Regions from separate parts of the Homo sapiens genome. Here all the other regions are linked to region 1. The links are contacts of gene promoters, found by promoter capture Hi-C in blood cells and fetal thymus (Javierre and others, 2016). All regions are on one chromosome and are shown on one strand. The core of a region is centred on a gene start or on the middle of the fragment in contact, and the rest is flanking DNA. Distances in the headings are between cores, read along the strand shown. Region 1 holds the start of TTK (TTK protein kinase). Region 2 holds the start of IRAK1BP1 (interleukin 1 receptor associated kinase 1 binding protein 1). Region 3 has its middle 12 kb from the start of LINC01526. Region 4 has its middle 16 kb from the start of TENT5A. Region 5 has its middle 30 kb from the start of LINC01526. Region 6 has its middle 7.4 kb from the start of LINC01526.

What was found. The method cuts DNA at HindIII sites, captures the fragments that hold promoters and counts their contacts. A CHiCAGO score of 5 or more calls a contact.
Region 2: the fragment with the promoter of IRAK1BP1 here is called in contact with the fragment with the promoter of TTK in region 1 in 1 of 17 cell types (fetal thymus); the score reaches 5.4 in fetal thymus.
Region 3: a fragment that was not itself captured here is called in contact with the fragment with the promoter of TTK in region 1 in 2 of 17 cell types (naive B cells and total B cells); the score reaches 6.3 in naive B cells.
Region 4: a contact is called between a fragment that was not itself captured here and the fragment with the promoter of TTK in region 1, in 8 of 17 cell types (neutrophils, naive CD4 T cells, total CD4 T cells and 5 more). The highest score is 19.2, in neutrophils.
Region 5: a contact is called between a fragment that was not itself captured here and the fragment with the promoter of TTK in region 1, in 4 of 17 cell types (total B cells, neutrophils, monocytes and 1 more). The highest score is 8.7, in total B cells.
Region 6: a fragment that was not itself captured here is called in contact with the fragment with the promoter of TTK in region 1 in 4 of 17 cell types (total B cells, monocytes, naive B cells and 1 more); the score reaches 16.0 in total B cells.

What each region holds. Positions count from the first base shown.
Region 1 is chr6:80,003,095-80,008,178 of GRCh38, reverse strand. It overlaps TTK (TTK protein kinase), which reads right to left and starts at 3,530. Exons shown (of 22, transcript NM_003318.5): 1 at 3,466-3,530; 2 at 2,197-2,337; 3 at 148-370. The coding sequence starts at 2,335. RefSeq lists enhancers at 3,929-4,048, 3,619-4,493. The HindIII fragment of the contact is 2,460 bases long and covers 2,228-4,687 here.
Region 2 is chr6:78,865,973-78,871,082 of GRCh38, reverse strand. It overlaps IRAK1BP1 (interleukin 1 receptor associated kinase 1 binding protein 1), which reads right to left and starts at 3,532. Exons shown (of 4, transcript NM_001010844.4): 1 at 3,192-3,532. The coding sequence starts at 3,506. LOC107986613 (a long non-coding RNA gene) reads left to right here and starts at 3,593. Exons shown (of 2, transcript XR_001744210.2): 1 at 3,593-3,695. RefSeq lists enhancers at 2,745-3,345, 3,178-3,497, 3,528-3,637. The HindIII fragment of the contact is 7,957 bases long and covers 1-5,110 here.
Region 3 is chr6:81,823,272-81,828,447 of GRCh38, reverse strand. No RefSeq gene overlaps it. Among named protein-coding and RNA genes, the nearest start is that of LINC01526, 12 kb to the right of the region's middle. The HindIII fragment of the contact is 2,112 bases long and covers 800-2,911 here.
Region 4 is chr6:81,734,401-81,739,027 of GRCh38, reverse strand. No RefSeq gene overlaps it. Among named protein-coding and RNA genes, the nearest start is that of TENT5A, 16 kb to the left of the region's middle. The HindIII fragment of the contact is 6,057 bases long and covers 1-4,627 here.
Region 5 is chr6:81,782,064-81,786,745 of GRCh38, reverse strand. No RefSeq gene overlaps it. Among named protein-coding and RNA genes, the nearest start is that of LINC01526, 30 kb to the left of the region's middle. The HindIII fragment of the contact is 3,333 bases long and covers 1-3,331 here.
Region 6 is chr6:81,804,545-81,809,116 of GRCh38, reverse strand. No RefSeq gene overlaps it. Among named protein-coding and RNA genes, the nearest start is that of LINC01526, 7.4 kb to the left of the region's middle. The HindIII fragment of the contact is 210 bases long and covers 2,244-2,453 here.

The sequences.
Region 1 (5,084 bases), core at 2,281-4,780:
TTAGTCTCTTGTTAACTATAAGCAAAAGTATTTGGTAAAAAAATTAATATTTTCTCACAATACTGCCATGTTTTTTATTTTCTCTCTTTGCAGTGTAGTTACATATTATGTAACATAGTTGAACATAGTTAAAATGCTAATACTTACGCTTTTAATTCAGCAAATCTCACTTGAATTCTAGCAAAACTCTCATTTTGGCCATATTTATCTGGGGGAAGCGCTTCAATTGCTTGACTGTAACGACCAATCAATTTATTTAAAAGAGCATCACTTAGCGGAACACTGTTTTTCTCTAGTTTGAGCAACAAACTCAACCAGTCCTCTGGGTTGTTTGCCATCATCATAATTTGGTTAACAGTTCCCGAGTTATCTAAATAAGGGGAACAAAATATATCACAAGAAAAGACATAAAACAAATGCCAAATTGCATTTTTCCTTCAAAATATAGTCAAACATTTGTACTGTCAGTATCAATGTACATAAAGTCCTTATAATACTTTTTAAAATTGTAAAAGTTCATATAAATACAAGTAACTTATTTATCGTGTATTTATCTTTTATGAAGGTATACTTTATCCAAAAGCTATATATTTTGAAGGAAAGAAAACATTTGGAAATAAGTGAGTTTTTTTGTAAGTAGCCTTTAAAAATTGTATGTAGTTTAAGAAAATTTTATGCTGTTGCAGGATAACTATAATTTTAGCATCCTACCTATCCATAGAAAACTAAATCTCTCCCACTGCCACTTGTACTAATTAACTTAGAAAATTCTCCCATCAATGATTTATTCATTAAACCTACTGCTCCAGTCCTAACATAACCTTCTTTACAACCTTAACCATTCAACATTATCTCTGTATACCTCATACTTACTTGTAAAACCAAACCAGCTTTACAAAAAATAAACAAATGAGACAATCATTTTCTTCTCTCCAAGTAACCTAAATTTCTGCTAGAGGCCCTGATAATTTCTTGGTCCAACAAACTCATAGTTACCGTGGTCTAGACCTTTGGAATTTATAGGACCTCTTGTGACTGTCAGGTTTCTCTCTGTGGAACCCCAACCAACAGAAACAGCAAGAATAACCTTCAGACAAAATGTTCACACTGAAATGTACTTTTTACTTTCTTCAGTGTTAGTTTTTTAAAAAGATAACTTGAATGTCAGTCTTCTGTTCAGGATATTTTGGTTATTACTAAGCAATATTAAATTCAGATTTCCAGAGAAGCTATTATTCCTTCTATTAACTTCAGTCACTTTCAACAAAGCCTACATCTTTACTTTTATAAATAAAATTTGTTTCTACTTTCTACTAAAATATAGTGCATGCATAACTTTGCTTTGTCGTTTTAAATTTAATTTGGTCTGACCTTAATTTTCTATTTTTACCTCCTATTGCTTTCCTAAGAAATTAGTCTGTGAAATGTCTAAAAAACACACATTGCCATCTGTGGCTTTGCAGATGCATTCCTCATGCCTGAGTACCCTATTCTTCCTCTAATCAACAAATAAAACATTTGTGTTTTATCATGCTAGTATTCCTATGATGCCCAGCATGCATTACAATGTAGCATAGTGAATATATAAATTCTCATCTAGAAAGAAACTATGGTTTTAAGCATCTTTGAATCTTCCTCAGTACTTAAAATACTCAATTGCCTTGATGTACAACCTTTGTTAGTGACATAATTAAGCACAATTATACTCCATTAAGATTTTGCTTAACACTAAAACTATCATTTTCTAGGTTTTTTCAAAGTGAACAGTCAGCCACCATGATTAGATCACAGGTTCTTCCATTTATTTTCAATTCCTCATCTATTTAAAGGTTAGTATAGATGTAAGAAAATTATCCAAAGGTCACCATTCAAATGACCAACCATTTGAAATACAGTAAAGAATCAGGCTTCTGAGCTAATACTTTTAGAAGAGCTAGAGTATTAAACTCTGGGCATTTTCACCCATTAATCATTGTTCAATAAATGTTTAAGTGCCTACCTACCATGTGCCAGACACCATTCAAAGTTCTGTGGATATAACAGACAAAAACCCTGCCATCATGTAGCCTGCATTCTAATGGAGGAGAAAGACAATAAACACATGAGTAAATTATAAATAAAGTGATTAGTACTATATCTTTACCTTAGAGGATACCCAACAAACAGTTACTAACTTAAAAGAAAAGAAAAACTCACCTGTAGTATCAGCAGAAATTTTATTCAAGCTTAGTTCATCAGTAAGGTCTTCATTTTTAAACTTATTTTTAATGTCTCTCACTTTGTTCATTATGGAATCAATTGTCAATTCTCTGCCACTTAAATCCTCGGATTCCATTTCTAAGAAAAAAACTGAACAGTCATAACTCCTACTTTAACTAGCATCAAAGAAAAAAATGCACTAGCTTTTTAGAACCCAGACGACTAAAGCATTCGTTTTGTGAACACATCTAAATGCAGCTATTATTAGGCTAGTATTAATGGAGGTAAGTGCACAACAACAAGGTACACATCTTTGTAATTTATTCACCAAGGTTTCATAGGCCAAGTATACTTTTTCCCCCAATATAACATCAATGACGTCACACTGTAGAAATCTGCAAATTTAGTGTCACTTAAAAAAAATATGATAGAGTGTTTGCTTGGATTTTGGTAGCGACATACACATAAAGATTGCTTGGATTCTGGTAGTGACATAGACATAAAGAATTCGTTTGGCAATGGGAATAACAATTCCTTTATTCGCCTGCTTTACTTGAGTAAATCTTCCAGTGCAAGTGCTTTCAAAGCAGAATATAAACATGATGGGGCTTTACTGATAATTAGGAAATCCGCAGATTTATTCTTGTGCATATCTAGCAGAATCACGATTTGCTACCTTAATCTAACACTAAGAAACTATTGTACTGGTACTGAGCACTTGCTTATCTGCATGGTGGTGGTGTTTGTTCAATAAAGTGTCTGCAGTCTTATTGTTAATCGTATCTTTGTGACTCTCAAACACCAACTCAGTGTCACTGATAACAATGCTGCCCCGTCTTCAGGTTTAACAATGAAAAAAAGTCATAAAGTTGCAGCAAGGTATCACTCCACCTCTTAAGTCAGGTTTGAAAGATAACTGTCAGATCACGGCCACCCGCTTCTTTCCCAGTTCTAACCCCCAAAACAAGAGAGACTGTCCTTTGGAAAACGATCTTGTGCGCAGGTACCCCACCACCCCTTCTTTCCAGCGTGGGCCACACCCACTTCTTACTTCCTCAACAAAACCTCCTGCATCACCCCACCGGCCAGACCCGCTGAGGCAGTGAGACATCCCCTCCCCCTCCAGCTCGTTTAGCCGCGTCGCATACCTGGCTCCGAGCTGCCCCCACCTCGCCCCACCCCTCACCGACCAGCGCTAACAATGAGCCCCTACACCGGCTGCGGCTGTTCCTCAGTGCGCCGGTGCACCGGTAAGACAGAACTTACCTACAGAAAGCTGCGCTGGGGAAATGAAAAGATGGAACCCAAACTCCTTTCCGCAAACACGTTTGAATTTCCCCGTCGCTATCACTACGGTCTCCTATTGGTCAATGCTAGCCACGTAGAAGCGACAGTCGTGATTGGTTCTTGTGCGACGGGGGCCGCCCCTCCTCCTGCGTCAGGCTAGGCCCGCCCCGGAAGAGCCTGCGGCCGCGACCCCACCCGTGCGGCGCCTGGGTTGGTAGGGTGCTGGCACTTTGCAGGCGTTCCCCGGACGCCCGTGGGCGGGCTTTCCTGGTCTTTCCAGTTTAACCAGGCCGAATTTTTGCCTGGGAGGTAGCCACTCCCGAGCAAACCTACCCAGTGAGAGGAATATAGGGGCAGGGACGGCTGCTCCTAGCATCAGGACCTAAAAGATGCACCTTGGGCCGGCCCTTTACTGACCCCACCGCCACCCTTCTCCTTCGTTTCCCGCGGTTCTCACAGCCTGGCTTAGAGAGGATGTGGCAAGAAAGGATCTTTCACTGAGCTACGTTCAGCCCTGCCGCCAGCTCAAGAATTTCAGTGCTTTTTATCCTTGAGCTTCTGCTTATGCCCTTCCATTATCCTTAAATGACTCCACGCTCTGTCTTCAAGCCAAGACCCTCCCCCTTGTCAAAATTCTGCGCAGAACTCAAGCGCCCATCGTGATTGCCCTGTCTGAAGTCGCCTTATCGGCCCCCCTCCCTCGAAGCCTGCCCCACTTAAGGGCTCAGGTGTCCTCAGGGGTAAAAACATCTCCCTAGTAATAATCTTCGCGGGTGCGAGGCTCTGCCGCTAAGTGGCTTTGTGGTCCAGGGCAACGGTTACTCCTCGTCTGCAAAACTAAAAGGGATGTGTCTGTTGTGCCAGCATTATGACATATATTCTGTGGTAGGACGGGTTGGTTTTGTGTATGTATAGGAAACTAACTGCAGCTGTCACTTGTTAACTCCAAAGCTATCCTTAGAACCCTCACATTCCCAGCTCTGGATAGCCACCCAGCTAGCGTGAGAGCCCTTCTCAATCACTTAATGCATCTTTCTGTGTCAGCTAGCTAGTATTTCTGCTTCAGCAGAGCAAAATGACTTGCTATACCATGGTTGGCTAATCACTTACCTTTGCACCATTGCATCTAATGCTTCTGCCTGGAAAGAGTTTATTATTCCTCCAATTCTCGTTGATCTGTTTGCGGCCTGATCACAAAGCTTGCATTTTCCTTAAAATACTGTTGCTGGATGACCTCACCCTAACACTTCTTTCTGTACTCTCGTTTGGTGGTCTCCTTCAGTCTTCTATTTTTAAATACCATCTATATGTTGATGGCTCCCAAATGTGTATCATTAGCTGAGCTCTCCTCAACTCCATACTCAGATATCCACTGCCTACTTATTAACATCTTCACTTACATGTCTCATACGCATCTTGAACTCAAAATGTCCAAAACCAAGCCCCTGATCTTCCTACCCAAACCTGTTTTTTTTACAAAATCTATAAAAGACAAATTCATTGTCTTAAATTTTTTAGCCCCAAAACCTTTGTGTCATCCCTGATCCCTTATCTAACTCATAAGCAGATTGAGTCAGGGCTGGCACAAGAGATTCCTG
Region 2 (5,110 bases), core at 2,283-4,782, 1.1 Mb after region 1:
CTACCCAGGCTATGGTTTTTCATTACAGCAGACCAAACAAACTAAGACAATATAAAGTATTGTTTAAAAATGAACAATGGGCCAGGCGCAGTGGCTCACGCCTGTAATCCCAGCATTTTGGGAGGTTGAGGTGGGGGATCAGTCAGGAGTTCGAGACCAGCCTGGCCAACACAGTGAAACCCCATCTCTACTAAACATACAAAAATTACCAGGCGTGGTGGCAGGCGCCTGTAATCCCAGCTACTTGGGAGGCTGAGGCAGGAGAATTGCTTGAACCTGGGAGGCGGAGGTTGCAGTGAGCCTAGACTGCCTCCATTGTACTCCAGCCTGGGCGACAAAAGCGAAACTCCATCTCAAAAAAAAACAAAAACCAAAAACAAAAATGAACAATGAAAAGAAAGGCTTAATGTTTGTTGGTTGAATGAGTAAATATTGCTTAGAACTTTAAAACACTTTTCAATGAAAACCACGCTAGAAGTAAGGATTATACCTTCACACAAGTTCATAAATCTATGATCTATACCATAGCTGAATAATTTGTTCACTTATTGTTTCATTTTTTTTCTATTATTCATTCAGAAGGCATTTTCTGAGTACACATTATGTGAAGTGTATGGACCATAACTCATACAGGCAAAAAAAGAACAAATGGTCTTGGCTCTGGAGAAGTTTAGAATATGGAGGAGAAACAAGTAAATTAAGAATTATGATACAGGATAAGTTTTTATTACAAGTATAGGGAGTGAAGTGTTGCATGGCAGGGATTAGTGTTATATTAGGAAAGGAATGCCAAGAAGGTGAATTTGGGCTGATTCTTTTCTTTTCTTTTTTTTTTTGAGACAGTGTCTCACTTCCATAGCTCAGACTTGGGCTAATTCTTAAAGAAAAATACAATAGAGGGGAGGAAGATATGATAGGAGATGAGGATAGTCAGGCTCCATCTTTTTTTTTTTTTTTTTTTTTTTTTTTTTTTGGGACGGAGTTTCACTCTTGTTGCCCAGGCTGGAGTGCAATGGCACGAACTCAGCTGACTGCAACCTCCGCCTCCTGGGTTCAAGCAATTCTCCTGCCTCAGCCTCACAAGTAACTGGGATTACAGGCATGCACCACCATGCTTGGCTAATTTTGGTATTTTTAGTAGAGACGAGATTTCACCATGTTGGTCAGGCTGGTCTTGAACTCCTCACCTCAGGTGATCTGCCCTCCTCGGCCTCCCAAAGTGATGGGATTACAGGCGTGAGCCACCACGCCCGGCTCAGGCTCCATCTTTTAAGCAAAGGAGTTTGGATTATGAGGAGCCCTTTAAGCAGGGAAGTGATGTTTATAAATCTTACAGCTCAGAATTCTAAAGTTTAAAATGAATACAGACTTTGTGAAGACCCATAATTCATTCTGAAAATATAAATGATATTTTGTATTATCTCCTGAACAAATTATCTACCTGACTGCTTTCATCCATTAGCAGAGATAATTGGGAGGTTACTGTCTTTCTTATGTCTTGCCTTGAACACTGAATCTTGATTACTCTAAGTTGGACTTAGTTAATTTATTTACTTACTACTTATTTGAGACAGAGTCTCTGTCACCCAAGCTGGAGTGCAGTGGCACCATCTCGGCTCACTGAAACCTTCGCCTCCCGGATTCAAGAGATTTTCCTGCCTCAGTCACCCTAGTAGCTGGGATTACAGGACTGTGCCACCATGCCCACCTAATTTTTGTATTTTTACTAGAGATTGGGTTTTGCCATGTTGGCCAGGCTGGTCTCGAACTCCTGGCCTCAAGTGATCCACCTGCCTTGGCCTCCCAAAGTGTTGGCATTACAGGCATGAGCCACCATGCCCAGCTTATGTTGTTTTATATATTAGAGACCTGTGAGCTCTTTTTATTTTATGTAAATAACTTAAAAACTTGTTAACATTATTCAAACGACTACAGCACTAGTAGCAGTTTTTTAAAACTATTTTTCTACATATTAAACCCACTTTACTCACATTATTTATAATTATCTGTATTTTTCTAAATTGTAAAATCATTTGAAGAAATCTTGTCCAAATGACTTTGTAATAACTTGTATGTTTGTATTATAAATGCAATTCAAATATCTTTTCTTGTTAAAAATAAGGACTTGCTTTTTCGGGGTATGGAATTTCTTGCAATAGACTGGAAGTAACAATGCCTGCACTTTTACCAACTCAATGTCATCCTGGATAAGTTACATCTCTGGCCTTTGGGGTCCTACTCTATAAAATGAGAAAACTGAAATCGTTGATCCCTATGATTTCTAATTTTCTTTCATTCTAATTATCGGCAGAATTGGAAGCAACTTACATTCTGGTTTCAGGAATACATGAGTTCAAATATTGCTCTACCTAAAGTTCAGAGCATTGTTTAACCTCTTTAAATTTGGAAAACAGGGATATTAAAACATGCCTAACAGTGCTATTGTGTGGATTAAATGATGGCTTCATTTTTTTTCTTGCCTTAGGAGTAGGCTTAAGGTAAGATTTGTTTAGTGATTTGTCTCATGGACATCTCCGTTAAGTAAGTAGAAGTATTTCGTATATGTGGTATCCACAATACTGGCTTGATTTTTTCTTTTAAGTTAAACCTAAGAAGGCCGAAGAAATTTTGGGGGAATCACTATAAAATGAAAATCATTATAAAATGAAAATGGACGCAACTTCTTCCCCACTTCCCAACGTTACTGTTTGCGGAACATACTCAAGAACCATTCCATGCAAAGTTTTACATGATCGGAAGGAAGCAGGTCGTGCTCTTCACTTGCCAATTCCATGGTGCGGAATAAAAACAAAACAAAACAAAATATTTAGTGTCCAGCACTCCACGTGGGCAAGTATTTACAACTAACATTTCAAGTTTTAACATTTCATCACTTTAAATTTAAAAACAAAATCACTGAAGCAAATATCCCCAGATAAAAACCTACCCAATTTGCATTCTTTTATTTTTAATTTGCCTGAGGCCAATAATTACCTTCGTCTAGGAGAAGAATGGGTCAAATATTCACTCTGCCAGGTCCTGGCGTCCCGGAGTACCTTTGCAACAAACGCGTCCTAAACGCTCCAGACCCTCCACATCTCCCTTCCCGCTAGGGGGGCCTGTGGGGCCCGACCATCTGCCAACCCTTTTGTGTCTTCCGGCTCTTATTTCCTCCCCCGCGGAGATCTCACCTGCACGCCCTGCTGCTGGAGGCTCTGCGTGATGTAATCTAGACGGCGACAAACGCTCTTTTTGGCCTCGGCTGCCGCCTCCTTGGTGCTGCTCACTCGCACCACCACCTGCGCCCGGTCAGGGCCCGCAGACACTTCTGAGGTGCCGCTTACTTGCACCTCGCGGGTAGCAGTTTGGGCTTGTGTTGAGGAGAGGGGGTGGCGTAAGCCCGGTAGCGTCTCTCTCCCTGAGGCCAGGTTGTTCTCCCGGCTCCGGTCAGCCCAGGGAACCAGTTCCACGAACACTCGGGTCGGAGGGGTCTTTTGCAGAGACATAGCGATGGCAGCTGGGTTTCCATAGTAACTACCGGCCGACGGCGGCCGAAGGGGCCAATGCGCACCAGGGCTTGCCTGTGCACGGCGCAAAGTATGCCGGGATGGGTGTGGAGGCCGCGGAACTTCTGGCGGGCGCAAGCTATATGCCTTGTTGATCTTGCCGCATCTTTTTTACTAGATGTCGGCTGAGTGAGTAGCTACAGTTTTTAACATGTTTAACTTACGGCCTTCAAAAATTGTTAGCGGACTTTCTCTGTTGCCTCCTCAGTGAGCTCTGCCCTTTCTCGCAACTCCTTGTCGTCCCACCGCGCCTCTGCACCTCAGAGGAAGGAGAAGAGTAGCGAGGCCGAGCGGGTTTTTAGATTTCTCTGTGATTACCCCCAGCCTTGTCTTTTCTGACTTTACCGTCCCCGCTTGGGGTACTGCTTTTTGAGGCTCCCTCGGCCACATTTTTGTGGTTCGTGAGAGGTTTCAGTTGAGGTGAACTTTTTGCCCCTGTGATCTTGGACAGTTTATGATTCTTCATATCTCAGTATCATCTTCTCTAAAGCAGGGTTGATAATATTTTTTATATTAGTAATATATAATATATTCTAATATATATAATATATTCTAATATATAATATATTCTAATATATATAATATATTAATATTATCAAAGCAATGTTGATAATATTTTTCACATTTGCTATGTGCTTATAAGGCGCCCATTGTATGTAGAGTGCGTTGCATATGGAAAGCAGAGTGAACATAATGGATGTTTGTAATGATAGCTATGGCTTTGGCATCATTTTTGTGTCTCCCCATTTTTTTCTAAAATCCCTGGAATGGTTCGGGCCTTGAATTCCGACAGAAGAGATTTAGGTGGTAGCAAAGCACGTCCAACATGGAGTTTGCTGGGCCTGCACAACTTGGAGCTTCTCTGTACCCTTTTCTTCAGAGAACTTTTAGAACACAACCCTCAACTTCCCGTCTTCTGGATTCTCTTCCTAGCACTAAGCAATGATCTTTGTAAAAATAGCCCCACTGACTTATACGTCTTTACTATCTGAATTTTATCAAGAGAATCGAGGGGGGAAAAAAGAATTTTGAATAACTAGTTCTAGAAGGACAAGAACTGTTCTTTTAAAAGGACCCTGAAAAGCTGACAGTCCTCTTGTAGTTTCTTCACCATCGTTTTTTCTGTTCTTTTCGATTAGTATAATTCAACTAAATCAATGGTACCCCCCTCCTTTAATTAGGCTCATCACTAGATTAACATAATTTTGTGTATATCCATCTTGTTTATTGTTAGCTGAAAACAATTTTAATTTAAAAACTAACGTTAAGAACTTTCCGTCATAGTCTTTTATTATTTAAGACACCCAAAATAATGTTTCTTAAACTTGGTGAAAAATTCTTTTTCCCTTACGATAAATGCGGAAGAATATAGCCTCCAAAATAAATTATTGAATGAGTGAATGTCATAAACAAAAAGCAACAGGAGTTAAAGTGTAAGTATTTAGTATACGATAAAAGATTTCATATCAGTGGAAAATGATTACATGGTACAGGGATAATTGTAAGCTATATATATAATATACTATAGCTATATAGCTATAGTA
Region 3 (5,176 bases), core at 606-3,105, 1.8 Mb before region 1:
CAACAGAGCAAGAATCCATCTCACAAAAAAAAATAAATAAATAAATAAAAATAAAATAAAATAAAAGATTCTTAGATTATTGTGTGTTTTATCATAAAAATACTGTTTTATCATAATAAATCTGTTTTATCATAATAAATACTGTTAGGTGTTTGTCAAATGTCTTTTCTGTGCCCATTGAGATCATCATGTGGAATTTGTCCTTTATTATATTACTATGGTTATATAATATATTACTATGTCAAGAACTGAACTTAAGATTGCTGAGCTGCCAGGGTCTAGGTGGCCAATTAAAATAATAAGCCAAAGCTAAAGTAACAGTCAAACCTTTAATCACTTAGTGGTGATAATATAAGCAAGAGGCTAAATAGGAAAAAGTGCTGGCTCTCTCAATGTTCCATTTTCTCCCATGGAATGGTGTTGGGAGGAGTCAGATGTATCATTGCAGACATGGAGATTATCTCACTGCCAAGGGATTCCTCCCAAGAAGGTTCCTGCTGTTTCCTGACCCAAGGGATGGAAGGGGAAGAGACAGAAAAGCTAGGAGTGGGAAAGTACTTAATATTAAGTCAGAGTGAAGAAAAGTGTCTTCAAGGTCCCCCAGGTATGGTGGGCTTAGTAGATGCACCTGAAAAGGCCTTGGCCCAGGGCCTCCTGCTAACGATGCCTTCGAAGGGAGGATCCTGAGCTAGGAATGCAAGTGACTGCAACTTTCGTTGGAGCCTGCAGTGCACTAGCTGTACGCCATGTCTTGTGTAGAGAAGGTAGCTTTCCCCCAAGAGGCCTGCCAGGTAAAGCTTTTGAAATTGGTCCTGTGGTCAGACCTGAAAAATGGCACATAATATTTTGGGAGTCAGACTACTCATGTATTACATGGATTTTTGTATGCTGAACCAATATTTCATTACTGAAATAAATCTAATTTAATGGTCTCATGATGTATAATTCTTGATATATGTTGCTAGATTTAGTTTGCTAGTTTTGTATTGTTTTTGAGGATTTTTGTGTCCATATTCATAAGGGATATTGGTTTGCACTTTTTTTTTAGATATACTATTGTCTAGTTTTGGTATCAGAATTATCCTAACCTCATAAAATGAGTTCTGAAATGTTTTCTATTTTTTATATAAGTTTGTGAAGTTTTGATGTTAATTCTTTAAACATTTGGTTGATTGACCAGTGAAGCCAATTGGTCCTGGAATTTTCTTTATGGGAAATTTTTTGATTGCTAATTCAATCTCTTTTCTTGCTATATGTCTATTTAGTTATTTTATTTCTTCTTGAGTCAGTTTTGGTAGTTTTTGCCTTTCTAAGAAAGTGTTCATTTTGTTTAGATTATTTAATATGTTACCATATATTTGTTCATAGTAGTATTTCTTTTGGGGCCCAACTAGCAACAAATTCTCTGGTTCTACATATGGGGAATGTCTTAATTTCTCTTTCCTCTTTAAGAAATAGTTTTGCTTAGTTGACAGTTTTTTTTTCTTTTGTCACTCTGAATACGTGATTGACACCATGGTTTCTAATAAAAAATTAACTGTTAATTTAGAGGATCCCTTTTATGTATATGATGAGCTGCTTTTCTCTTGTGGCTTTCAAGATTTTCTCTTTGTCTTTTTCAACAGTTTTATTATGAGTTTTGGTGTGAATCTTCTTGTTTGTCTACTTGGATACATTCAGCTTCTTGGATGTGTAGATTAATGTTTTTTAAACAAATTTTGGAAAATTTTAGTCATTATTTACTCAAATATTCCTTTTTTCCCTTCTGCTTTCTTTTTATCTTGAAACTTATTACGCTTATGTTGGACTTGGTATCTTGCAATTTTCTAAGGCTCTGGTTTCCTTTTTTTTTTCCATTCTTTTTTCTTTCTTCTCTTCAGACTGGATATATTTGATTGATCTGTTTTCAAGTTCACTGATTCTCTTTTGCCAGTTCAAATCTGCTGTTGAATGTCTCTACTAAATTTTTCATTTCAGTTATTATACTTTTCAACATCAGACTTTCTGTTTGACCCTTTTTTATAATTTATATCTCTTTATTGATAGTCTCTGTTTGGTGAGATGTTGTTTTTACACTTCAGTTCTTCAGATACTATTTACTTGAGTTCTTTGAACATATTTAAAATAGCTGATTTAAAGTCTCTGCCTAGTAAATTCAACATTTAGGGCTTCCTCAAAGACAGTTTTCAGTGATCTTTCATCCTTGCATGTGGGCCATATGTTCTTGTTTCTTTGTATGTCTCACAATTTTTTGTTAAAAGCTGGACGTTTGAAAAATATATTTCAACTGTAGAAAGAAGAACCTCCCCTTTCTCTGAAAGGGAAAATCATGGTAATTTAAATCTCTGTGTGTATGCTTACTTGGATATTAGCATGATTCTTTTGGAAAGCTGCAAAAGAAAGTAGAGAAGTGAAGTCTTCTATTGATCATATATGGCCTTCACAAACCCCTTTTTAGTTTGTATTGCATTCTTGAAAACTTGTTGGCATGTTAGACAACTTTACAGGCAGACAGAAAAGCAAGAATAAATCAAATGCAAATTTAGTAGAAGGAAAGAAACAATGAGTATTAGAGCAGAAATGAATGAAATTGAGACTAAAATAATACAGAAGATCAACAAAATGAAAAGTTGACTTTTTGAAAAGATAAACAAAATTGACAATCTTTCAGTTAGACTAAGAAAATGAGAAAAAACTCAAATATATAAAATCAGAAACAAAAAAGGAGACACAACAATAAAGACCACAGAAATACAAAGAATCATTAGAGACTATGATGAACAACTATATGTGAACAAATTGGAAAACCTAGAAGAAGTGGATAAATTCCTGGATACATATAACCTTCCAAGATTGAACCATGAAACTAGAAAACCTCAACAAACTAATAATGAGTAATGAGATTGAAGCTTCACCAAACATTTAAAGAAAAACTAACACAAGTTCTACTCAAAGTCTTCCAAAAAATTGAAGAGGAGGGAATACTTCCAAACTTATTCTAAGACCAGCATTCCCCTGTTACCAAAATCACACAAGCACACAACGACAAAAAAACTACAAGACAATGTCACTGATCAATATATATGCAAAAAACCTCAACAAAATACTAGCAATTTGAATGCTACAATAAATTAAAGAGATCATTTATCATGATCAAGTGAGATTTATCCCAGGGATGCAAGAGTGGTTTAACATATGCAAATCAGTGAAAATAATACATCACATTAACAGAACCAAGAACAAAAATTTTATGATCATTCCAATAGATGCTGAAAAGCACTTAATAAAATTCAACATTCCTTTATGATACAAACCTTCAACAAATGGGGTATAGAAGGAACATACCTCAAAATAATAAAGACCATATTTTACAAACCCATAGCTAACATCATACTGAATGGGGGAAACATTGAAAGTTTTTCTTCTAAGATCTGGAACAAAACAAGGATGCCTGCTTACACCACTTTTATTCAATATAATATAGAATTCCTGGTCAGGGTAATTAGGTAAGAGAAATAAATAAAGTTCAAATCAGAAAGGAACAAGTCAAATTAGCCTTGTTTCCAGGTGACACGGTCTCACACTTAGAAAAGCCTAAAAACTCCACCAAAAAACTGTTAGAACTGGTAAACAAATTCAGTAAAGTTGCAGGCACAAAATCGATGTACAAAAATCTATAGCATTTATATATGTCAACTATCTGAATAATCTGAAAAAGAAATCAAGAAAGCAATCTCATTTATAGTAGTTACAAATAATATAAAATACTTTGAAATCCATCTAACCAAAGTGAAAATTCTATCCAAGCAAGGCAATAAAACACTGATGAAAGAAACTGAAGAGGACACCAAAAAAAATGGAAATATATTCCATGCTCATGGATAGAAAGAATTAATATTGTTAAAATGACAATTGTACCCAAAATAATGTACAGATTCAATGCAATCCCTATCAATATATGAATGGCATTTTTCACAAAACTAAAAAGAAGTTCTAAAATTTATATGGAACTACACAAACCCTAAATAGCCAAAGCTGGAGGCATCACACTACCTAACTTCAAAATATACTACAAACCTATAATAACCAAACCAGAATGGTACTGGAATAAAAGCAGACACATAGAATAGAGAACCCAGATATAAATCCACACATTTAAAGCCAAACTCATTTTTGACAAAGGTACCAAGAACATACAATAGAAAAAGGACAGTCTCTGGGAAATGGTGCTGGGAAAACAAGATAACAATATGCAGAATAATGAAATTAGAATTCTGTCTCTCACCATATACAAAAGTCAACTCAAAATGGATTAAAGACTTAAATCTAAGACCTGAAACTATAAAACTACTGGAAGAAAACATTGGGGAAATGGTCCAGAACTTGATGTGGGCACATATTTTTCTTGTGTAAGACTTGTGTAAAAGGACAGACCACCAAAGCAAAAATGAATAAATGGGACCACATTAAGCTAAAAATCTTCTGCACAGCAAAGGAAACCATCAGCAAAGTAAAGAGACAACATAAAGAATGGCAGAAAATATTCACAAACTCTATCTGACAATAAGTTAATAACTGAAATATATAAGGAACTCCAGCAACTCCATAACAAAAAAAAAATAAACAATTCAATTAAAAACCGGGCAAAAGATCTGAACACATATTTCTCAAAATAAGACATACAAATGATGTGTATATGAAAAATAGTTTGACATCACTAATCATCAGAGAAATGCAAATCAAAACCATAGTGAGATATCTCACTCCAGTTAAAATGAGTTATCAAAAAAACATAGAATAATGGAAGCCGGTGAGGGTATGGAGAAAGGGGAATTCTTGTACACTGTTGGTGGGCATGTAAATTAGGAGAACTACTATGGAAAGCTATATGGAGGTTTCTCAAAATACTAAAAATGGAAGTACCATGTGGTCCAGCAATTCCACCACTGGGTGTATATCCAAAAGAAATCAATATGCTGTAGAGATATCTGCACTCTCACATTTATTGCAAGACTATTTACAGTAGACAAAATATGGAATCAGACTAAGTGCCTATCAATGAATGAATGGATAAAGAAAATGTAACATATATACACGGTAGAATATTATTCATCCATAAAAAAGAATAAACTCCTGTCGTTGTAGCAACATGGAAGGAACTGGAGGACATTGCATT
Region 4 (4,627 bases), core at 452-2,951, 1.7 Mb before region 1:
AGAGTTTTCTCCAACATTTTTACAAAATTACTCTCTAAGTTCTTAACTTGATTTTTATATATATGTTACCATCACACTTGTCAGTACCTGAAACTGTATTATAGATCAATTTCTTTGTTTATGGTTTGTCACCATAGAATGAAATTCCATAAAGGCCACAAATTTGTCTTATTTATTACTATATTTTTAGTGTTTGAAATAGTGCCTGCTACCTAGGAGGTGCTTGTTAAATTTTTGTGAGTTAATGAATGAATAAGTCTCATTTGATTCAAAATGAAAGGTGAGGTGAAATATTGGGAACATATCAAAGAAGATGTTAAAATGGTGAAGGAAGAGTCATCAGGAACACTGTTGAAATAAGAGAAGGATCTTAGAGATTGCCTGCTTGTTGAAAAAGAATGGAGGAAAACCCAGGTGGAGAAATTCCAATTTTGAATCAATTTAGGAGCACTGAACAGTATGAAAGAGATATTCTCAGCTGAGTTGTTTAGGGCAGGGGTATTTGAACGAAAGAACCTGTTGCCTCTTTTTGATTCCTGAGCTTGAGGAGTTGAGAACAATGGGTAAACAATGTTTGTTGTGGCATGGTACTCAGGGACATATCTGCTAGCACCCATGGATCTGTTATCTGTTCCAAACCAAATCTGGCAGCCTGGTAAAGTGAGGATTCCAGTTGTCTTGGGTAGTAACTACACTTTCTTTCTTTCTTTCTTTTTTTTAAATCATCTGCTACATTTCTCAGAACTAGGGAATCCCTGAAAGAAATTTTCAAGACATAGAGCACAAAGACTGGATCTGTTTGTTATATTTTGAGTAAGAATAGAGGCTACTATTCAGGAAATGCACTTTGTTATTTGAGGAAGGGAAATGTAGAAAGGGCAGTCTGCCCATTAGCCTTTTCTAAAAAGCAATCAGTATTTCCAGTGGCATCCTTAGCTGGTCAAGCCTCATAGAACAGTCTTGCCCTGGGGCATTATACCTGTTGTGCCCATTTGTTATGGGTTTTTCATGAGTCTCCCAATTTCAGAATGTTGCCGTGTTGTCAGACCTTGTGCCTGCCATGCTATGGCATGTTGTCACAATAAGGCTTCTGATTTTAGGTGCCGTTTTATAATTATTGAAAAAGTTAGGTATGTGACAAAGTATGCTGGACTTCATAGATAAAACAAAGTCTACAAAAAATTTTAAAAATTAGTCTCTAATTTTTGCTACTTGTATATATTAAAACCAATGTGAATTCTCTGAATCTTGTCCAGAATTTCAACCTACTTAACCCACGTGATTCACATGAGAAGGGAGGCTAGGAGGGAGATGGATCGAGAAAAATGAAATAGGAGGATGTATTTCACAATAAATAATGAGAATTTTATGTAAAGTTCCAATTAGAAAGAAGGTAGATTTAGGCCTTCTAAATAAACTTAAGGTTTCAAGAACCACTTGAAGAAATCTGTAAAGAGGAGGATATCAAGAGCAGGAGGATATCTGAGCTATACACAGTTGTAGCCCAGATGAAGTAGTACAGGCCCCAAGAAAAAGAATGGTTATACAATGTGACCAATACTTCCCAATGGAAGGCTTTTCCATATAATGTATAACAGAAGTGGTACACATTCATAGCAATTTGATAAAACAATTATATTTTCCAGTTAATAGTCACAATAATCCTGATAGGTACAAAAGGTATTACAATTATCCCACTTTTAAGTTAAGAAAAATGAGTTCTGGAGTGTCTGAGCTTGTATGTAAGACATAAAGGCTTTTGGAACTCATTCAGTGATTACACAGAGAGAGTCTATTTCTGCCTGAAACACACAAGGTAAATTGTGTCTTTAACAACCCATCTCCTATCAACCATCTATCCAAAAGGCAGGTGCATCATAACAGCACAGTAAGTAGAAGGTTCAGGAAGAGCATGAGAGCTTTTCTTACAGAAAGAGATCACATCAATTGCCTATTGTGAGTGGATTACCTTGTGAAAAATAAGCATGATTTAAATTTTCAGTTGACAGTCAAAATTCAATAAACTACTTCGGTGTTGTCAAAGCTGTTTTCTGTATTCATATTACAGAAAATGGGCCACTTAATCTTTAAAAAGTGATCAATTAGTCTAGCCTACATCGCTTCTTATTGGCAATGCATGCTACCAGGTGGCTGCTTTTGAATCTTTAAAAAAAATTAAAGAAAATGTCTGAAAGGCAAGGTAAAGAGTATAATGAGATATGCTAACTTCTTACAAAATTCTGAATAAACTCATGAAACTCCTAAAATGTTAATTAGTCCTCTTGTGCTGTATGCTTATCACACCTGTTTAGTTATGCCACCACAGACATGTTCCCTGGAATTCTTATTCTAGTCTGTGACTTCTAGTTAATGATGTCATAAGCCTTTCTCAGTACATAGTGGCACCAAAATTCTCTTGTCACTTGGTACATAGTTCATAGGGATGGGAGCACAGAGAATCAGGTTAGTGGGCCTGGATTTTAGTTCTGAACTTGTACTAGTTCATGCATTTCTAAAACTGTACTTAAAGAAACACATGCATGCCCAGGCCCACCCTTAGCCATTTTTATATAGTCAGACTTGAGTGAAGCAAAAATACCTGTGATTTTCACAAAGTGTTTCTGAAGCACAGCTCTGCTCAGAGCCCTTGCTTTACAGGTTCCAATAGTGTCAAATCTATGTCACTTAGCCTGAATCCTCTGGAAAGCCGAGCCTGAAGCAATGATTATGATTCTAATAGTTTATTTTCCAGATACAATCACATCACAGGATGTTGAGGTAAGGAACAGATGTAATCTCTTGCAACACAGTGTGCTACCATGCTGGCTACTGCATCACAGCCATAACACAACATATCAGATAATTCAGCAGGCTTGTTCAGTCAGCAGGAAGGAATTATCTAGAAGGCTTGAAAGGAAGCACTGTACCTGGGAGTAGTATGCAGGGGAGAGAAAGGAGAAATAATTGCCTGCTTGCTTTCTCTCTGTCTCCCTTTTCCCACTGGTCAAAATTCACTCTGGGTAGAACTACCTCTTTCACATTTCTAGTTGCTTCATCTGGTCCTTGAGTAACTGTGCAGGAATGCAAATTTTATGTCCTGTAGGGTGATGCTTCATTTAATTCCAAAGGTAGGGTTGATTTGGCAACATATGGGGTTCTGACTAAGAAAGAGAGGAAGAAAGTAGCTAAAGTTTATGTCCTTCAATGCAATATTGTCACTGAAGGTGAAGGAGAGATTATTGAGGGGTTATTTCAGCATGTCAAAAAGATAAAGTTGGATTTAAAGAGGGCATATAAGATTGAGGAAAGACAGGAGCCACACAGAATACATTGGGAAAATAAAAATTAGTGTTAAATATTGTTGATTGGCACTTGACATCTCTTTCCACCTTTCTATATTCTAACCTGCATCCCAGGAGTTGGAAGGCAAAGAGCTACATTTACAAGACTCTCTTGCTGCTAGGTTTCTGGCTGCAATTCAGATTTTGCCAATAGGTTGCACTTGTGCATAGTATGTGGTAGAGAGCCCCTTTTTATGTGGCTGTGGTACCACCACCAAGTTTCTGTAGATGTGTGTACTGGCGACAACAGTAATTTCTTCACCTATGGATTTCAGCTGTAGTGGAGTGACTTTAAAAGCAAGAGTTGGCCAAGTGTGGTGGCTCATACCTGTAATCCCAGCACTTTGGGAGCCCAAGGGGGAAGATAGTTTGAGCCCAGGAGTTTGAGACCAGCTTGGGCAACATAGTGAGACCCTATCTATAAAAAAGTTTAAAAAATTAGCTGGGCGTGGTGGCACATGCCTGTAGTCCCAGCTACTCTGGAGGCTGAGGCAGGAGGATCACTTGAGCCTGGTAGGTTAAGGACGAGGGGAGCCATGATTGTTCCATTGCACTCTAGCCTGAATGACAGAGTGAGACCTTGTCCCTCAAAAAAAACCAAAAAAAAAAACAAAAAAACCAAGAGTCCAGTAGGGCCCTCTGACTTTTCCTCCTTTAGCTCTTCCAACCATTTTGTAAGCACCCTCTTTCTGCATTAAAACTCTTTATGAGTCATATCCCTGGAGCAGTTTGGGTTTCCCGTAAATGCAGTAAGACAGCAGAAGCACTGAAAAAGAAGTAGAGCTTGTGGGATCTTGATACACAGACCCTCATGCTCAGCTCCTCATCTGCATTCATCGTCAGCCCAGGAATGGAAAGGGTAAGAAACAGCAAGTCTGCATTGTGGGAAGAGACAGTGTTTGGGATCAGGCTTTCAGGTTTGAATTCTAGTCTCAACACTTACTACTTAGTGAACCTTGGACTTTTGTTTCCTCAGCCTATAAAATGAACTAATACCTCCTCTAAACAACTTAGATTATGGCTATACAGATTTAATGAGATAATGGATATAAAAGTTATTTTAGCAGCTGTAATGTGTCCTAAATGTTAAAATCATAAATCATCAGTACTTTGAGTAATGAATGTTGTGTGTTGTCACCTGGCCTGGAAATGAACTGGCCCAAACAATTCCATAGGCAAGAGCAATGTGCTCACCATTGTATTCCCAGTTTCTAATACAGGGCTTGACATGCTGTTTGATAAATATTCATTGAATGAATGAATTAATGACAGATACCTGACAGCTT
Region 5 (4,682 bases), core at 416-2,915, 1.8 Mb before region 1:
TATATACATAAACTCTATCGTAGTACCCATTGTCCTGTTGTGTATTGCAGACTTGCCCATGTGAGCCATCAGACAGACAGATTATAAAATGTCCCGCAGAGAAGGCAGCTCTGGTCTAACATTCAACTCTTTATGGTAGCTAGGAACACCTTAACAGAAGTCCCTTCTGTCAGAAGGCTACTCAAGGTGGTGGGCCCAAGGAGATGTCCTTATTATTCCCTGAAATGGTTCAGTGGAAAGATAACTTGATTCAGATTCAGAACCTGGGTCTGAGCTCCAACACTGACACCACAAGTGGAATGACCTCAGGCAACTCACCAAATTTCTCAAGGCTGGGCTTTGTTCATCTGTGAGTTGTGAATAATAATAGCCTAACTCATAGGATTGATGTGAAAGTCAGACGAAACACAATGTATCTGTGAATGTGCTTGGTAAACCATGAAATGCTAATAAATGCATGGCATATATAGTTCCTGACAGAGTAGTTCAAGTACAGTACTTGCTTTGATTTCACAGAATTACTTAGATGAAAAACTCAGTGAAGTGTGAGCACTTCTGCTCCCTCTTTTTGTACAATGGATTTCATGTTAATTAGTTCTAACCAGCTCCATGTTGGGGAGAAATGCATTTAACTTTGGAAACTGCCCCATATGATATTACAAATATTAACTGCCTCCACATTGTTTTCACTGCTGGGATTACCGCCCTGTGCAATAAGCAGTAGAAGCGGCATAATGCCATTATGCGTATCTAGATGGTGTCGAGACAGTGGCCACACTTTCACATCACTTTCTACCAGATTTCCATACATCTGCCCCTGCCCCAGCCAAGACTATTTGCTTTCTACCTTTCTCATACCACTTGATTGTTTCCACTTCTATGTTTTTAGAAGCTGTTTAACTTCACGTTATCCTCATTTTTCTACATGGATGTATTGCTCTTACCATCTTAAAGATCTACCTTTCTGGAAACCTTGCATGGTTGATCCCATTCTGCTTTCTTAATTCTAACTTCAATGCCACTTAATAGAGAGTTGTGCAAGACCCCATATTTCAGTAGATGTTAATGGAGTTTCAGGATAGTGTATGCAACTAAGAGTGGGTGTACATAATGAGGGTGGATCAATTCAGTCACTTCATCGCAGCTTTCAAAAAAAAAAAACAGAAATGCAAAACTGGTCCATCCAGTTTCCATTTATGAAGAGAAACTGCCATGAATCAGATTATAAGTGATGTTTGTCTCAGTTTCTTTCACACTCCAACTTAATGTGTGTATGCCTGAGTGTATATATGTATGTTTGTGTATTTGTGACCTTCTCAGCAGCTTAACTCAATTGCTTAATCCGTACAGCATAGAGAAAATTCATTAGATAGGAAATTGTAGTCTGTGCTGCCGTTAATTTGCCAAATTAATTTTCCAAAGCTCAATCTCTCCTGTAAATTGAGTATGTCACACTAGCTGATCCAGAAGGTCCCTCTAAGCATATATGACTTGTAGACGGGAGAAATCTGTAATATATCTATGCTAGGTCATATCAGAAAAATACCTTGCCATTCTCTGCCATGCCATTCACAGTGAGTTTAAAGTTGCTATACTTTATATGAATGTTATTGTATAGACAGAAAAGAAAATGAAATAAAGGGAAGGAACATGGAAAATATGCTTCTCTCTTCTAGGCTTTTTCAGTGGGAGTATATTGAGGACTGACGTAGTAAGTCCAAATGTTACAGCTTGTTCCTGAGTCTGGTGCCACTAGAAGCCTTGCAGAGGAGTGCAGTCTCCTCCATGATTAAGTTCCAGATACCTAACGGCCTACTGCCCTGCACCAGTCTGAGTCCCAGAGTCTCCAGATCCAACAACTACACTAATTAAAAAGGCTCTTTTATTCTGTAGTAATTGTTTGGCTCACTCAGACTGTGCTAGAGCTTTGGAATGGAGTAGGAAGCTGTACAGGTAGCTCCCTGTAGCAGCCCTAAAGTGGAGTTAGGTCTACTGACTACTGCTGCTGCTGCCCTAGGCAACCTGACCCAGGGTTCCAGATCATCAGGTACAAAGAACAGCATCCTGAGTCCAAAATCAAATTACTCCTTTGATTAAAATACTCCAATGGATCTGTAAGCAGTTGATGGATAACCTGGGAACTTTGAAACTTTCATCGACTTTCTAAGGAGAACCAATATGCTATGTGTCATACTGAATAAATGCTTAGTATTTATTGAATTACTAAACCAGACTAAATAACATTTTAAAGAAAGTTTTCCACAAGCTGTGATGATAAGTCAAAATCAGGAAGTTAAAATTATATGGAAATAAGCATCAAGATCTATTCTTAGGTTGACAGTAATTTAAAAAAGATTTTATGTTTGTATAATTACAGATTGCAAATCATTTATACATATTTAGTTCATTTAATGACTGCCAAAAATGCCACATTTCTATATTAGGATATTCTTATGATATTCCTATAAAGATTTTTTTTTAATAAAGTGTGACACAGACAGTATAAACAACTTTCCTGAAGTCACATATCTAGTAAATTGCCAATTGAAATCAAAGTCAGTCTTCCAATTTTAAGTCCTAGGCTCTAAATTGCTGCATGCAGCTAAGGGACTATTTGTTTAGTCCCTGCTATCTCTTAATCCACTATCAGTACCAATCCTTTGTGTTTAGATAGAGGGAGCCCCGGCTTCATTAAAATACCTTTGGAGAGCAGCAATCTTTCTTACCTTCATGAAAATACATCATCTAGAACAAGACTAACCGTCCTACTCAACTGTGTATTGGCCAGGCCATATCTAGAGCATACTCTTTTGAGTATTACATTGAAAGATTTGAGATTTATGAAGAGTCAGAAAGTGGAAAGCTGAGGGAGTTTAGTCTAGTGGTTAAAGTTTTTAAAACTATGTCTTACAAGGAGCAATTGAAGAAATTTGGGTGTTCAGCCTAGAAAAAGGAATATGGGGGTTGAGGTGGGGTAATATATAGGCAGAGAAAATATATTTATTGTCTGGTCTGAAGGCTATTACATCAGAGGGATGAGACGTGTAGCTCTAGAGGCCAAAATAGCACTGGTGAAGAGAAGTTATAAAAAGGCCATTTAAAAATTCAATATAAAGGAAAATTTCAAAAAGTAAAAATCACTAAAAAATTCAATACATTTTCTTGTGAGGTGTAACTTGTAAATGATCAAGCAAAGATGAGTAGACCATTTTCTGAGGATGATATAGACATGATTAGCACTAGGTAGGAGGTTGAAATAAACACTCTTTAAGACCTTTTCTAAGGGCCTCTAAGATTCTATGATTTAATCTTTCTCAAAAATAATTAAGCTTAAACAGAGGACAAAAAACACATCTGTTCTCGTAACCCACCTTTCTAGTAGTATCTAGGTTCCACTATCAGTGCCAATCATTATCCCAAAATTTAGCAGCTTAAAACCTGTATCTTGTGTGTCAAGATTATGGGGAGACCTCTACATTGTTTAGTGCTTAACTGGGAAGACTCCATAGCTGCTGTGGGAGTGGAGGAGAACTTGATGGCTGAAGGCTGGAATTTTCCAAAGCTGTGCTGTCCAGTAGAGAAGGCAATAATCACACATTGCTACTGAGTGCTTGAAATGTGTCTAGTCTGAATTGAGTTGTGCTCTAAGTTCAAAACACACACACACACACACACACATACACAGACACACACACACACACACACACATCCACTATTTCAAAGACTTTGTATGGCAAATAAAATAAATTAAGCTATCTTGTTAATAATTCATATATTGATTATATGTTGAAATAATACTCTTTTAGATATAATGGGTAAAGTAAAATATATTAACAACATTAATTTCACTCATTTTATTTAATTTTTAAAATATGGCTAATAGAAAATTTAAAACTTCATATGTGATTAATATATTCTTATTGAACATGGTTTATCTCATGGTATTGTTCATTGATGTATACTGTGGTTGATGCTGGCTATGGACTGGCACTTCAGCTGGTGATATGGTTTGGCTGTGTCCACACCCAAATCTCATCTTGAATTGTAGTTTCCCAAATCCCCATGTGTCGTGGGAGGGACCAGATGAAGGTAATTGAATCATGGGGGCATTTTCCTCATCCTATTCTCATGATAGTGAGTTAGTTCTTTTGAGATCTGATGGTTTTATAAAGGGCTTCCCACTTCACTGGGAAGTGATTCTTCTCTCTCCTGCTGCCATGTGAAGAAGGATGTGTTTGCTTCCCCTTCCACCATGATTGTAAGTTTCCTGAGGCCTCTCTAGCATGTACTGAACTGTGAGTCAATTAAACCTCTTTCCTTTATAAACTACCCAGTCTCAGATGTGTCTTTTTTTAGCAGAATGAGAACACACTAATACAGCCGGGCAATTGATGGGAACACCAACATGTGGTCTTTTCATGTGGCTTAAGCTTCCTCCTAGCACGGTGGTCTCAAGAGAGTTGAAATTTTTATATGATGGGAGAAGACTCCAAAAACAACCTTTCCAGTGAGCAAGGTGAAAGCTGCATTGGCTTTTTTGACTTAGGCTTGGAAGTCATGAAGTCATGTTGCATCAATTTGCTGTGTTCCATCTGTTATCAGCAAATCATAACCCTGCACAGATTCAAGAGTAAGAAACACATTGTAGTAGAACACGTGGAACACAAGCTGTTGTTGCAGAC
Region 6 (4,572 bases), core at 1,099-3,598, 1.8 Mb before region 1:
AGGATATGCTGTGTTTACACAGCCTCTATCTGTTTCCTTTTCTCTGAGACTCCTTCCCCCATTAAAGCAGACATAATACGAAATAGAAGAATGGTTTGGCTTGGGAATGTACTGATTCTGGGAGTGCAGCCATGGAGCAGTGCCAGCCAGAATTGGATGAATGATACGAGGGGTACAGTGAGACCTGGGATCTTCATTATCAAAAGGAGGGGCATATTTTAGTTATGGGCAATACAAAATTTTGCTGCGACATAAACCATAGCTGATGAGAATGTTTGTTTTAATCTGCTTTGAGGGCTGAAATATGACATTCTCTTGGTTGTTAATGCTTTCCGGAAGAATCATAAATGGAAGGAGAGGCTTAGAAATTTCTTTTTCTTTTCTACTACATTTCCAATGATACCTTATAAAGCTTCTTCCCCATTAAAATTCAAATAAAGAATATAAACCCATCTTGATTAAAACAAAAGAGATGAAGTAATACAGTTATAGAGTGAAAAGAACAAAAGCTTTAGAATCAGACAGACTTACTGGAGTTGACATCCCATATCTGTCACTTTACAAACTGTAAACTGTATCAAATTCTTGACCTCTTTGAGCCTCAGATTTCTCATCTGTGAAATGGAGATTGTGATACTTATTTTGAAGAATTGTTTTAGAGAATTAAAAGAGATAATGTATTAGAGACCCTAGAATAGGAACTGATAATTAATCACTCAACTAATATTCATTATCTTCCTTTCTTCCTATTCTGAATCAGCGGGCAGGATTATTTTAATATGACTGGCTAAAAAACCATTGAGAGATAGTCATTGCTGTGATTGAAAGCCAAATTGGTAAATGTGATCTCCACACAGAAATGTTATAAACAGATGCATGAGTATTGTTTGTGCAGGTTACACTGCTGTGCTGAGGGAATAGGGCTGATTAATTTGAATAAACGTAAAGATTGGTATGGTTCTACAATTCTTCTGCAATCTGCAAAAGGAAGGAAAGAACCATAGAAATCCTCAAATGTTTTCCAATATTTAGGCGGGACCCTTCCTTTCTACTGTTTCACTTTTGAAGACTATGCAGAAAGTATTTTTAAAAGGAAAACATTACTGAAATGCATACATGAATATAACTTTTCTATAAAAGTCATTGTTGTCTCATATATTGAGGCATTAGTTTAACATTTAACTATTTATTGTGCCAGAGTACTGAGTTAGGTGTTAGGGATACATGAGTCAACAAAAAGGCCAGTTAATAAATAAATATAATTGCAAATGTTGGTAAGGGGCCAAAGAAGAAAAAGGAGGTTATCACAACGTAGTTCCTTCCTATAACCTTAGTGTTTCTATCTGGAATAAAGTAGCCCTTTTTTGCCCCCTTTTTCTCTTTACGCAAGTTGAGCTTGGGTCCATATATCTCTCATACTTTGTAAAACCACAGCTTTTAAGACATATTTTTCTTGGTGTTTGGGATTAAATTTCATTCAGCTTCCTTAATTCCACTAAATCTCTTTTTAATTTTTCTTCTACAACCTGATTCTAATTGCAAATTTGCATTATATGGGATTTTTTTTTATGAGAAAAGAGAAACTGAGACTAAATTCTAGCTACTTTATCCTTGTCTCAGTAGGTCTACTAAATTGTTCATATTCAGAAAATGGGAGAGCAGGACCATAATCCAGGGACAAAGAAGATTTTGTTTGTCGGTTTACAGCTGGGCCGGCCCCATTCACAGGCAGTTTGTTTAACCAAGGTAAATAGGATTTCAGCTGGATCCTGAAGTGAGCATACGTAGATGGGAGAAAACGTTGTGGTAGATGATGACTCAAATTGCCAATGCCTCTCTATATCCATATCCTTTGACTTCCCAGACTCCCATTAAGAGGTGGAAGTTATTTTCCCACCTCTGAATCTGAGCTGTATTTGTGACTTGTTTTAGTCAACAATTAGGAGCAAGTGAGTTTTATGCCACTTCTAAGCCCAGGCTCCAAGAGGCCTTGTGTTAATCTTGCCCATAACTATGAAAATGAGCTGAGGTATCCCGTTGGCAGGTGGATACATGTGGCTCGATTACCTCTATCACCCCAGACAACAACCTGACTGTTGCCAGACATACGAGCAAAGCCATCCTAGACCAGCTAGTTGATTGTGAATGCATGAGTAAACCCAGTCAAACCTGTTTCAGATGAGCAGGACTACATAGCTGAACCATAAATTCAGAGCAATAAAAAATATTCTCAGTTTTAAGCTTCTGATTTTGAGGCTATTTGTTTTGCAGCAATAACTGATTATAAATATTTGCTACTTGAACGATTCCATGGTTTTCTAAGGTGATGTCCATTTTTCCTTTTCACCATCTCATTTTTGTATGAATTCCACCCTTAGCAAAGTTATTTTATCCTTTGATTGGTAAGAAAATCCAAAGGCAGACGTGTGCAGTGAATGTTTCATAATAAAGCTTTTAGGAAAAAAGCATGTGTATGTGTACAGATATGTATATGTACGTGTGCATATATATACATACTTGTTATACATTTTACATATAAAGTTTATAAATGTAATATAATAAAGCATAACACAAATTTATAAGTAGTAAAATATATAATACCCTTTTGTAAATTCCACGTATCCAATTGATTCTTACAGTATACTTTTGTTATTTTTTGTAGAACTCTTGTATGCATAACCAACTTATGGTTGCAATGCTACCATGATTTCACAAATGATTAGACCCCAATCTGCTACCTCTTTTTCCAATAAATTTGTTGCCATTAAATCCTATAAGTGATTTATTGTTGAGCTATTGCTAACGCTTGTACAAAGTTACGTTCATTAAATTGAAATAGCTTTTGGCTTTAATATTAAGCACAACACACTGTTAAGTTTAATTAGCATTATTAACATTTTCTCCATCATTTTCTTTAGTCTAAACAATCAACAGAATACTAAACCAAGTCCTGATTTGTAGTGTTGGCTCCTTTCTTTCATGAAGCATTGCCATCATGACCATTTTCAAGCTACTAGGGTGACGTCACCGAACACAGAGTGGGGAAGAGAAGCACAGTAGTACACCATCATACAGTATTTCTGCCATGCTGATACGATTGAGTTAAATAGCCTCAAAAACCTAAGTAATATAAAATATAGTAAAATAATTAGAAAGTGATGAGTTTGGGGTGCTTATAACCCTTATTTTTAATATAATTTATTGAATTATAAGTTCATATAATTTTTAATGATGGGCATGTCCAACAATTGGCTTGTTAAATTTCTAAAAGTAATAAAATGACATTCTGGGATGGATGATTAAAAAATAATAAAAATATTAACAATCAAATAAGTTGGCCTTGGCATACCCCTGCTGAAGGACATTGGAAACACCCAATGGTTCTAGGTATATTAATAACTCCCATGCATCGAATGCTCACTAAATCCCAGATACTGTTTTAAGTACTTTAGTGAGGTGATCTGCAGGAGTTGACAGGGAAAATGGAAATCTAGATGACATGAGCTTACATACAAAAGCGATATTCAGTGTTGATGGTGGAACAGTGGTATGGAAACACCTTGGTGATACCAAGATTTCAATGTTTAGAAACTGAATGTGGAACAGAATCTGTAACCTCCTCCAGAGAGTTCCCAAAGGAAATAATATCAATCGCAACAAATTTGACCTTCCATTGGAAGCAGTTTCAGAATTCTACATAGATGGATTTAATGGCAACAATATGGCTGGAAGATAAATTATGGACTCATCTGGAAGCTGAATTTGCATCACAAGTAATGTTTTTACTTCATACATGTTTTGGGTCAATAAAAATAGTGAGTTTCTAATGTAGTTTATGTTCATGCTGCTTGAGTTTGAGAAAGGATCAACTTTCTAGAGATTATTATACTATTACATTGGTGTAGCTATAGGATCACTGATAGAAATTCCAGGGGCCAGCCACTCATCTCTATCAACCCCTTGGTGTCACTGGAATCAAAGTATGATTGCCTTCATCATTGTAGGTGTGTGATAGGACTAAGAAAACAGTGTCAGTGACATAAACTGATGGCCACATTAGGTGTCTCCTTTCCATTTTCATAGTCTTGGTTTCCTGTGACTGAATCTTCCCAAAGTCTTTTGTGAAGCCAAAAGTTACCCAAGGCAGTGCAATGGGCATGCTTTAGCATCCATAAACTTGGCCTCTTGAATTGTTTTCAGCTTTGTTGCACATCTCATCTTCTTTTAGTCTCATTTTCTTTCTCAATAATACTTTCAGTTGGTGTTGGGAAAAAAAATGGTGACAAAGATGCTCAGGAAACTCCAGAACACCTGACACTATGATTCATTCCCAAGTTTTAGATTGTTTTTTTGAGTGGCCTCAGGGGGCATGATTATCCACAAGTGACAGGTACCAATGAGTGTTGTCTGGTGTGGGGAAATGTGTTAGCATATTACATTTAAAAACTCTTCAAATTAATTTATGTATCACTGTTGTGCGTGACTGAAATAGGACTCAACAGTGGGATGTAGGAAATTTGGAAGATTAATCAACATATAATTTTTGAGCTCCTACCACAGGAAGGACATTTA